Regions from separate parts of the Homo sapiens genome. Here region 1 is linked to region 2. The links are contacts of gene promoters, found by promoter capture Hi-C in blood cells and fetal thymus (Javierre and others, 2016). All regions are on one chromosome and are shown on one strand. Each heading gives the region's core, a stretch centred on a gene start or on the middle of the fragment in contact. The rest is flanking DNA. Distances are from core to core; before and after follow the strand shown.

Region 1 (5,161 bases), core at 2,622-5,121, 3.2 Mb before region 2:
TCTCTGATATTATCCTTTTCAATACATTGATAAATTTGACCTCAGAGAAAATATTAATAAATTTGATTTTAGGGAAAACAAACAAAAAACCCTCTTGAATGACAAAAAAGAGAAAATGAAAATAAATAAAGGAAAGAGATAAAACTCTTACTCATAATGAGAAATGTAAATGAACTACAGTGAACACTGTTCATCACCTATGGGATTGGCAAAAGCCCAAAAGTTTGTTACTACACCTTTTTCATTAAACTGTGGGGCCCTTAAATGCATTGCTGAGCAAAATGCAAAGTGCTAGCTTTATGGTGGTGAATTTGGCAGTATCTAGCCAAATTACACATACATTTAGTTTTTGACACAGAAATCCTAGTTTTAGAAATCTACCCTGAAGACTCACTGGCAAAAATCTAAAATGATTCATGTGTAAGGCTGTTTATTGTGGCATTATTTGTAACAACAGGAGATGAAAGCAATGTTCATGCCCATCAGGAGGGGATTGGTAGATGAAGCTATGGTACATGAAGATGTGGTATAGCTACATGATTGAATACTATGAATCTGTGAAAGAAGGAAGAAGTTTGTTATATTATTGATATGAGGTGTTTTCTGGGATATATTTTTTCCACTTTTAAAAATCAAGGGTGACTTTTCCTATGAATCAAAGTAATAAGGCTTCAATGTGATAGATTAATATTAACTCATAAATAAGAATATACTGGGTTTCAAGCCCTAGGGCAGTACAGCACTTAAAATAATAATGGCTCCCAGTGATGACCATGCCTGCTGCTTCAGTCCTGTCTGTTCTAGGCACTGTGCTTAGTTGTGTGGGCTTATTTGATCTTCCTTATATAGACACAGAAAATATCCAAATGCCAGAGGTGAATTGGTTGATCAGATTTATTGATATCTACTTATGTTGGCTATGATGCTCTCTTCAATTAAGGATGTTAGTGACGTAATATTTCTGAAGAGCACTCTGCCGTTGTTTTTACATATTTTTTCCACGCCATTGATCCTAGTCTGCACATTTTGATGCCAGTGCTTGCTTAATCTTACCAGAAGAGGGGATCAAACGGAGGCATGAGTCACATCATCCTTTTGCTGCTTTGAATGTCCTCTATTTTAAGGGATTTTGCAGCTCTTCCTTCCCTTAGTTCACTGTCTGGGCTGTGAGAGGCACTCCTTTTGTGTATATCCGGTGATAAAATGTAACACTGATCCATCTCCTTGTGAATTCCTTCCTTCCTTAGCTTAGCGCTTAGCTTAGCACTTCTTGCTTTACAGGAAACATTGCAGTGAGTATTGGCTTTATTGGTGCTCCCCCTGCTGGCTGTTTCTATGTCTTTGTGCAAACAGGGTAACAGCTTCAGCTTCAAGTCATAGTGAATCTCTGATGAGCACAGAGGCTTAGCCTGGCGGAGGCCGAGGGCAAGCCTACATCATTGGGGTGTTAAAGCCGAGCTTTCAATTCTGGCCCAGCATGCAGAACCTATCTTCACTTTCCTCATCTGCTAAACTGCCCACTTTGTAGGTTCATTGTAGCGATTAGAAATTATATAGCTCATCTGACACTCATAGGAAATGTTCTGAAATGGTGAGTAAACCTGACCGGAGCCCTCCAGAAAGTTTGCAGATACTATTATGTATTATTTTTTCTTGAGAAAATGTAAGTGGTTTATTATGTCTGTAACTTGAAGACTCTATGAGAATAGATTTGCATTAAAAAAATCCTAATGTAGATGGTCAAAGAAATTTGATCTTCTCTGGAAAAGTTAGTGAATTTCTTAGAAACTGAAGTTTACTCTGTTCCAAGATATATCTTCACTGTCTTAATCAAAGGGCGCTTGAATCATAGCAAATATTCTCATCTTTCAACTAACTTTAAGTAGTTTTCCTGGAATTTTACATTTTCCAGAAAACACTCCTTTCTGTATCTGTGAAAGAAAGTGTGCCTCAGGCTGTAAACTGGGCTGCACTGGACACCTGCGGGGGACTCTGGCTTAGTGGGGACATGGTCAGTATTGATTTTCCTCAAACTCAGCCTGTGTAGCTGTGAAAGCATGGAACAGATTACACTGCAGTTAACGTCATCCCACACATCTGGACTCCAAGACACGGGGAGGTCACATAGTCAGTTGTGGATGCCGGTTAATGATAAGGTGTGAGTTAGCTCTCGGGTCTCTGTTTCCTAAGTCACACAAACAGCAGTGATAAACTGTGCTAACGGATGAGACAAGGTACCTGAGTTAATTTGCAATTCAGCACACAAAAATGGAAAAGAAATTATTATATCAGTCTGATAAAGTGCAAATGTTCTGATGTAGGAGTAAAGTGACGTGGGTTCTAATCCTGGTTCTGTTATTCACCAGGACAACAGACCAGTCATTAGCAGGCCTTTCTCTGAAGAATGAACTTTTGAAAGTAACTGGCCTTTTATGGGCCCTGCTTCTTGGTTTCTTGGTTTTTTAAAAAATCCAAATTCTATAAATTTGACCAATCTAAAGGTATTACTACATGCTTCATCAGATATCTCTGCATTTCTTGATACCATAAAGTTAAAGTTCTTCTGGTAAAAGAGTTAAAAATCACTGCCTTATAAAACAAGCAAACAACAAAATAAACCTGTCTGGAGACATTTTGTCCATTTGCCCTGTTCAGGCAGTGACAGAAATAGTGTCATTATAGTGTTTCACAGATGGACGGAGCTTACATTTGAAGTGATTTCCATAGCAAAAGCCCTAAAAAAGTTTCCAGAATTCGTGTTGAGTGGCGTTGTTTCTGATGGAAGCCTCTGCAGTATTGGAGGCAGGCATTTACAGGGAAGCCCACCAGTAAAATAAAATTTTCAGAAAAAGTTATTAAAAGCTACATTTTAAAGGAAACTCCATAATTTCAGCTGCCCTGAGTCCTATGCTTACAGAGAGCCTGCATTTCCACCCAGCTGATCCGGGTCTCCAGGGGGATTACAGAGAACTTGCAAATGCGGCCCAAAGCATGTGTGGAGCTGTGCTGCCACAGGGTGGCAGTGTTGTCACACACACAGCAAATCCCCTCGCGAGCTTTTCTGGGCCTGGAAAAGCTCAAATCTGTTCTGTTTTTGGAGTGTTCATCAGTTGAGAACAGGAAAATGTGTTCCGAGGGCTGAGCCACGTGTTTATGAGGTAGAACTAATTTTTGTTATACATCAGTTGTGTAGAGATATTTTTAAAATTTAGCTTGTACCTTTAGAAAATGCTTTATAAGGCAGAGGTTGCAGTGAGCCTCGATTGCGCCACTGCACTCCAGCCTGGGCGACAGAGTGAGACTCCATCTCAAAAAAAAAAAAGCTTTATATTCAAAACAAAATAAATTGCATATGGCAGGTTTTAAGAGTAGAGTAGGAGAATCATGTCCAGTGCCTACAAGTCTAACAGAGTTTCTTGTTCCTTGTTCTCCTGAGCCTTTCTCAGTATCTGCATAGTTCTTTTAAAGGTTGTATGATCTTCTGTGTAAAGGGAAAAGCGTGGCTTTTGTTTTTGTTTGCTTGAATTTGGATTCTGAATTATTCACATACAGTTTGTGACCTCTTAGAGCCTTGTCTTCCCGTGTGTACCGTGAGCTCATAATCACCAGCACCCAGCATTCTTATGAGGATTAAATGAGTGCCAAGCACAGGAAGGAGCTCACAGCTAGCACTCGATGAAGGTTGGCTCGGCCCTGTTGCTCATTGCTTCTTTTATTCTGGTATAAGTAATGTGAAAGTCACTTTATCCCAAAAGCCTTTTTTCATTTGGGAGGTTTTCTTTATGAAAGACACCTGCAAATGTATTCGTGAATCAAAGGATATGACAACTTTATGGCATTACTGCATTGTTTCCCTTGATGACTGTGTCATCAACAACAAATAACAATATGTTATTATGGCCACTCAACTCTCCATTTCTGATTCAGAGCCTTGTGTATATAAAACTCCTATCAACTATTGGAAAGTAAATAGACCTTAATGTGTAATCTAGAAAAATCATTCTAAGGTTCTTTCCATACCTATTTGACCATTAAAAATAGGCCAGACATGGTGGCTCATGCCTGTAATCCCAGCACTTTGGGAGGCCGAGGTGGGTGGATCACCTGAGGTCAGGAGTTTGAGACCAGCCTGACCAATATGGCAAAACCCCATCTGTACTAAAAATACAAAATTAGCTGGACGTGGTGGCAGGTGTCTGTAGTCCCAGCTACTCAGGAGGCTGAGGCAGGAGAATCACTTGAACTCGGGAGGCGGAGGTTGTAGTGAGCTGAGATCGTGCCATTGCACTCCAGCCTGGGCAACAATAGTGAAACTGTCTCAAAACAACAACAAAAAAATAGTTTTAAAAATATTCTTATCATATGATCTCTAATGCAAACCTGGAACCCATCAGAGGAGGGTTTTGGTTTTAAAGCTTTGATGAATTTTTTTCCCAGAGTGTTCGATTCTTACAATGGGAGTAGTATACACATAGATCCTGAAGAGTTGATAAACAGGGCCTAATGCCAGTACCAGTTCTCGGAGGGAAAAAAATAAATGTAGATTTTTCACCACTTGGCTGAAAATGTGATGTTTGTAAGGATACTGAGGTAGAAAACGTCCCTTTCAAATACTGGTTTTCCGTATGTTCCCCTAAAACATGACTATTATTTCCACTGTCTATGTTTCCTTTCTGGCCTTCCCCTGCTCTTTGTCAGACAAGTATAAAACAAGAATCTCACTTGCCTGCACATGGATTTAAGTTGCTTCAGAGACCAGAGAAGGTGAGAAGCAGAGCTCTCTGTCCCTCGGTATCCTTTCCTGTCTAGGAGATGACATCTCCGCCATCACAGTGCCTCGGGCCAGAACCCTGGGGTCCTCTTTGCCCCCTTTGCTCTCCCACTCCACCTGCAACCCTCATAGCGTCTGTCGCCTTCAAGATACATCTAGGATCTCACCACTTCACACAGCCTGGCCTTGTCACCTGGCCCAGGCCTCCTGGCGGCTCCACTTCCCAGCACCTGTGGTCTCCAAAGCCTCCTCCCCACCTCCCTGCTTTGCGCCCTGCGGTTTCACGCGGCATCCAGAGCGCAGCGCGCGCGGCCGCCAGGTGCGCGCGGCCGGGGGCTGCAGAGAGCCTGCAACGCCGCCCCCGCTGCCCTCCTCCAAGCTCCTGGCCAG
Region 2 (5,195 bases), core at 415-2,914:
AACACTCGCATATGACAATGAAGATTAGAATTTTGCTTCATGTTATAGTCTTAAAATAGGCAAAAACTGCAATTTTTGTATTTTGCACCTTTTTATTATTATTACACTTTAAGTTCTAGGGTACATGTGCACAACGTGCAGATTTGTTACATAGGTATGCATGTGCCATGTTGGTGTGCTGCACCCATCAACTCATCATTTACATTAGGTATTTCTCCTAACGCTATCCCTCCCCCAGGCCTCCACCCCCCAACAGGCCCCAGTGTGTGATATTCCCCTCCCTGTGTCCATGTGTTCTCATTGTTCAACTCCCACTTATGAGTGAGAACATGCGGTGTTTGGTTTTCTGTCCTTGTGATATTTTGCTGAGAATGATGGTTTCCAGCTTCATCCATGTCCCTGCAAAGGACATGAACTCATCCTTTTTTATGGCTGCATAGTATTCCATGGTGTATATGTGCCACATTTTCCTTATCCAGTCTATTATTGATGGACATTTGGGATGGTTCCAAGTCTTTGCTATTGTGAATAGTGCCACAATAAACATATGTGTGCATGTGTCTTTGAAAATTATCTGGGCCTGGCGCGGTGGCTCACGCCTATAATCCCAGCACTTTGGGAGGCCGAGGTGGGCAGATCACCTGAGGTCAGGAGTTCGAGACCAGCCTGGCCAACATGGCGAAACCCCGTCTCTACTAATAATACAAAAATTAGCCGGGCATGGTAGCTTGTGCCTGTAATCCCAACTACTTGGGAAGCTGAGGCAGGAGAATCCCTCGAACCCGGGAGGTGGAGGTTGCAGTGGGCCAAGATCACGCCATTGCACTCCAGCCAGGGCGACAGAGCCAGACTCCGTCTCAAAATCATCATCATCATCATCTGCATTATCATTATCTTGATTCTATGTGTCAAGTTAAAGACAAGGTTCTAGTCTATTTGCAAAGGACATTAAAAATAACAATTGTTAACACAGATAATCTTTAGTCTTTGAAAAACCAAATTAGATACAATTGTTGCTTCATTTCCCCCTTTAAAATTTTTCCTTTAAAAAAAATCCTAATGACATTATTTATGCTAATAAGAATTTTATCGGATGTAATAAAGTTCGTCTTGAGGCAAACTGCAGAATTATCACTTAACGTCAGTGTTCTTTAAGCTTCCCGACTTTACCAACTAGCCAGTAATATGTTCAATTTTTTTAGAAGTCATTTGAAACAATTTTCAGAACCTTAATCCACCAAGATGCTTCAATACCAAAGTACCAGTACCGTCATCTGAGGCTGGAGGGTTTAAAGCTGCTCTACCTTAGGTATATTTAAGATAATATTGTTTAACCTTTATAAACGATTAATTTTATTTGGATATTTTAAAATAACACTTGAAATAGGTGTCACAAAATTCTTTCAAAACGTGAATTCTCAGAACAACCTCCCCGAATCTGGGGCTTGAAGCCTCCGCCTCACTAAAAGTAGATCCCACCATTACCCGGCAGCGCGGAGGCATACCCGGAGACTGGGACCCCCACCTCCCCCGGGGCGTGACCTGTGATCCTTGACCCGTGACCCCACCTCCTCTAGGGCGTGACCCCCTAGCCCCACCTCCTCCGGGGCGTGGCCCGGAGATAACCCTGGTAAGAGTCGCGTAGCCCGAGCCGGGCGGAACCACTGTTCGCGCTGCCGTGTTTCCGGGCGGGGACACTCAGGGCGCGACGCTTTTCTGTTACCCACAGAGGCCCGCCGCGGCTGCGCCATCCGCGGCCATGAAGTTTCGGGCCAAGATCGTGGACGGGGCCTGTCTGAACCACTTCACACGTGAGCAGGGAGGCCGGAGAGGAGCGAGGGAGGAACGGAAGGAAGCAGTGAGCGCGCGGTGGGGACCGCGCAGGAGGATCAGAACGGGGATGGGCGCCGGAAGGGGCCGCGGGAGGATGGGGCCGGGATGGGGGTGCTGGTGTAGGCCGCGGGAGGGTGGGGCCGGGAGGGCGCGGGGCGGGTCGGAGGGCACTTGTGGGGATGAAGGCGGCTTTCAAGGGACGTTTCTGAAACTTGATTCCGATCACGTGGCTTTAAAAAAAAGCGGCCACTGCTCCCATAGACGGCTTTATCAGGCATTGACATACCTTCAAGGCCCCATTCGTCCCTCCACCCTGACAGTGCCTAACCTTGCATTTAACTGTGTATTGCAGTACCTAGTAGTCAATAAATCCATGTTGAATGAATGAATGACTGGTAGGTGCCTGTTTTCTTATTTGAACACTGATGATGTGTGCTGTACATCTCCCCTAGTTTGTTGGGAGAATTGCGTGACATCAGGGGTATTAAAGTACTTTCCAGTGTGATACCAACGTTAAGTGGTTATTTTTCCACCGAGAAGTTGATGAACAAGAAATTCTGCAAAATAAGTTGGTCTCTAGGATACATAATGTGCATTTTAGTAATTCCTTATTTTAACCCCTGCTTTAGGAATCAGTAACATGATAGCCAAGCTTGCCAAAACCTGCACCCTCCGCATCAGCCCTGATAAGCTTAACTTCATCCTTTGTGACAAGCTGGCTAATGGAGGAGTGAGCATGTGGTGTGAGCTGGAACAGGTGAGCAAAAGCTTCTGAGAGGCCTGCACACTCTGCAGATTGTCACTGGAAAGATCACATATACCCTCCCTCATCCCTCATTTTTTTTCCCTTAGGAGAACTTCTTCAACGAATTTCAAATGGAGGGTGTCTCTGCAGAAAACAATGAGATTTATTTAGAGCTAACATCGGAAAACTTATCTCGAGCCTTGAAGACTGCCCAGAATGCCAGGGCTTTGAAAATCAAACTGACTAATAAACACTTTCCCTGCCTCACGGTCTCCGTGGAGCTGGTGAGTAGGAGAGTCAGGGTTTCTAACACAGAAGTCTTGGCCTCGAAGGAATAGACATAGTTAGCCTAGCCTTTTTAACAATAAATACTGTTGAAAGCTGTTTGGTTTATTTAAATTTAAAGATCTGGTCCATAACTATATTTTGCATTAGAGTCAGTTCCTCCTCATTTTAAAATTGTGTTGTTATCATATGCATTCAGCTAGAATGCTGCTTTTTCCAAGCCGTGAAACTTCCAGCCTCTCTGTTTCTTGTAGTGGTATTGTCACCTTGTCTAGAAATCATGGTTTCTCTATCCATTTTCACCTTTGACATGTTTTCTCCCCACTCCCACCCTGCCTCATCTGCTATAATAACCTTTAAATGGCCCCTCGTTCTTCAGTACACGTATGTTTTATATGCTACTGCCAGATGAATTTAGTGCACAGCTGTCCTCCAAACACACAAATACACAAACTCATGCGCATACATACAATCCAGAGTTGCTCTTCCTACTCATAGAATGAGGTTCGTATTTCCTTTTTTTTGAGACGGAGTCTCTCTATCACCCAGGCTGGAGTGCAGTGGCGCGATCTCGGCTCACTGCAACCTCCATCTCCCGGGTTCAAGCGATTCTCATGCCTCAGCCTCCTGAGTAGCTGGAATTACAGGCACCCACCACCACACCCAGCTAATTTTTGTATTTTTTTAGTAGAGTCGGGGTATCACCATATTGGCCAGGCTGGTCTCGAACTCCTGACGTCAAGTGATCCACCTACCTCGGCCTCCCAAAGTGCTGCGATTGTAGGCATGAGCCACGGCGCCCAGCCCAGCTTTTCTTCATAACTCTCAACTCTTTGCAGTCAGGCAGTTCTCAGAGCTAATTAGGGCATTTCATGTCACAGTATAAGTTTGGTATGTTTTTTCTATTGCTTAAGGAAAAGCAAGATAGTAACGTATAATACTTTTTGTCCAAAAGTGCAAGATATTTTGGTCTGTGAGTCTCATAGGAGCCCCTAGAAATAAATATAGTTTGCCTTTTAACTGTTAGAAACTGCAGCACTCTGAGTGTCCTATGCCCAAAGAATGGCCTTCTCTTGGTTGCGTCAACATAGCAGGCTTGCTTCTTTCTGCCTCACGGCTTTACATGTGCTGTTTCCCCAGCCTGAAACCCTGTCCCCTTGTTCTTGTCTTCCCATGGCTGCTGCTTCTCCTGCTTTTGGTGGTATCTGAAATGTCACCTCCTCAGTCTAAGGAAACTCCCCCACACTCACCCTGGTCTCTGTGGAGTGCTTTCTCACGGCTATAATGAGCATTTCATACAGTTTCATTTGTTTGCATTTTTATTGATCTGTTTGTTCCACTGGAACACTAAGGACCTTTTTGTCTTATCACCACACTTCCCAGTTCCTGGAAGTACCCAGAGTCTGTTCCATAAATATTGGCACCATCAATATTGGTCGAATGGCTTTTGAGTGAATAAACTGACAGCATTCCACTTAGATTTGGTATTTCAACTTTTTTGTCCCGGGTCTTCGGGTTTGTTTTGTTGTTGCTTAATATTAACAACATAAAAATATTTTTAAATTCTTTTCTTGGCAGTTATCTATGTCAAGCAGTAGCCGCATTGTGACCCATGACATCCCCATAAAGGTGATTCCTAGGAAATTGTGGAAGGACTTACAAGAACCGGTGGTCCCAGATCCTGATGTAGGTGATGCCTGCAGTCCTGCTGTACACCCCACATTAAATGGCATGACTTGAATTCTCTAGTTTTAGTTGTAGTCTTGCAGTATATTTTATTTTTAAAGGATACTTAACGAAAACATTAGATTATTTGCCTTTTGTTATTTACATAAAGCATCTTAAAAATGTTGCATATGATAGAAATGTCATGCCATCCTATATGTAGAAAATGTCTCGCTCAGTAACATCACTTAAAACACAAATGATACTTTTGGAGGACAATTAGTATTTATTAGTATTCTTGGCCTTAGACACCAATTTGGGTTTCACAGGACTTGATCTTTTCCTCAGCCGGTCAGGAGCGATATCTGGATGTGCACGAAAGCCAAGAAGAGAAGAATTTCATGGCTTAGGGCTAACATGGGGTAACGGTCATGCCGATGGTTAACCCTAGAGCTCCTGAAAGTAAAGATGATGCCAAAGGGCCCATTTCCTCTTGCTCACAATTTGTTTAAGAAGAAAGTACAGAAATATGCTGGGTAAAATAATTACTTGACTTTTACTAGATGGCACCTACACTGATTTTGAAAAAGCCTGTGTTTTATAGAGCACTCTTGGTAACAGTCTCAGATGTGATGCAGTGACTGTCTGCCATGTTTTTGTACAGAGC

The links. Contacts are between HindIII fragments. The CHiCAGO score rates a contact against its expected background, and 5 or more counts as called.
Region 1: a contact is called between a fragment that was not itself captured here and the fragment with the promoter of HUS1 in region 2, in 2 of 17 cell types (non-activated CD4 T cells and naive B cells). The highest score is 7.1, in non-activated CD4 T cells.

What each region holds. Positions count from the first base shown.
Region 1 is chr7:51,159,071-51,164,231 of GRCh38, reverse strand. All of the region lies in intron 5 of COBL (cordon-bleu WH2 repeat protein), which reads left to right. Among named protein-coding and RNA genes, the nearest start is that of COBL, 160 kb to the left of the region's middle. RefSeq lists an enhancer at 2,906-3,200. The HindIII fragment of the contact is 1,092 bases long and covers 3,326-4,417 here.
Region 2 is chr7:47,976,084-47,981,278 of GRCh38, reverse strand. HUS1 (HUS1 checkpoint clamp component) reads left to right here and starts at 1,664. Exons shown (of 8, transcript NM_004507.4): 1 at 1,664-1,811; 2 at 2,463-2,590; 3 at 2,686-2,862; 4 at 4,442-4,549. The coding sequence starts at 1,760. RefSeq lists an enhancer at 1,594-1,883 and silencers at 1,954-2,013, 2,094-2,143. The HindIII fragment of the contact is 1,329 bases long and covers 1,159-2,487 here.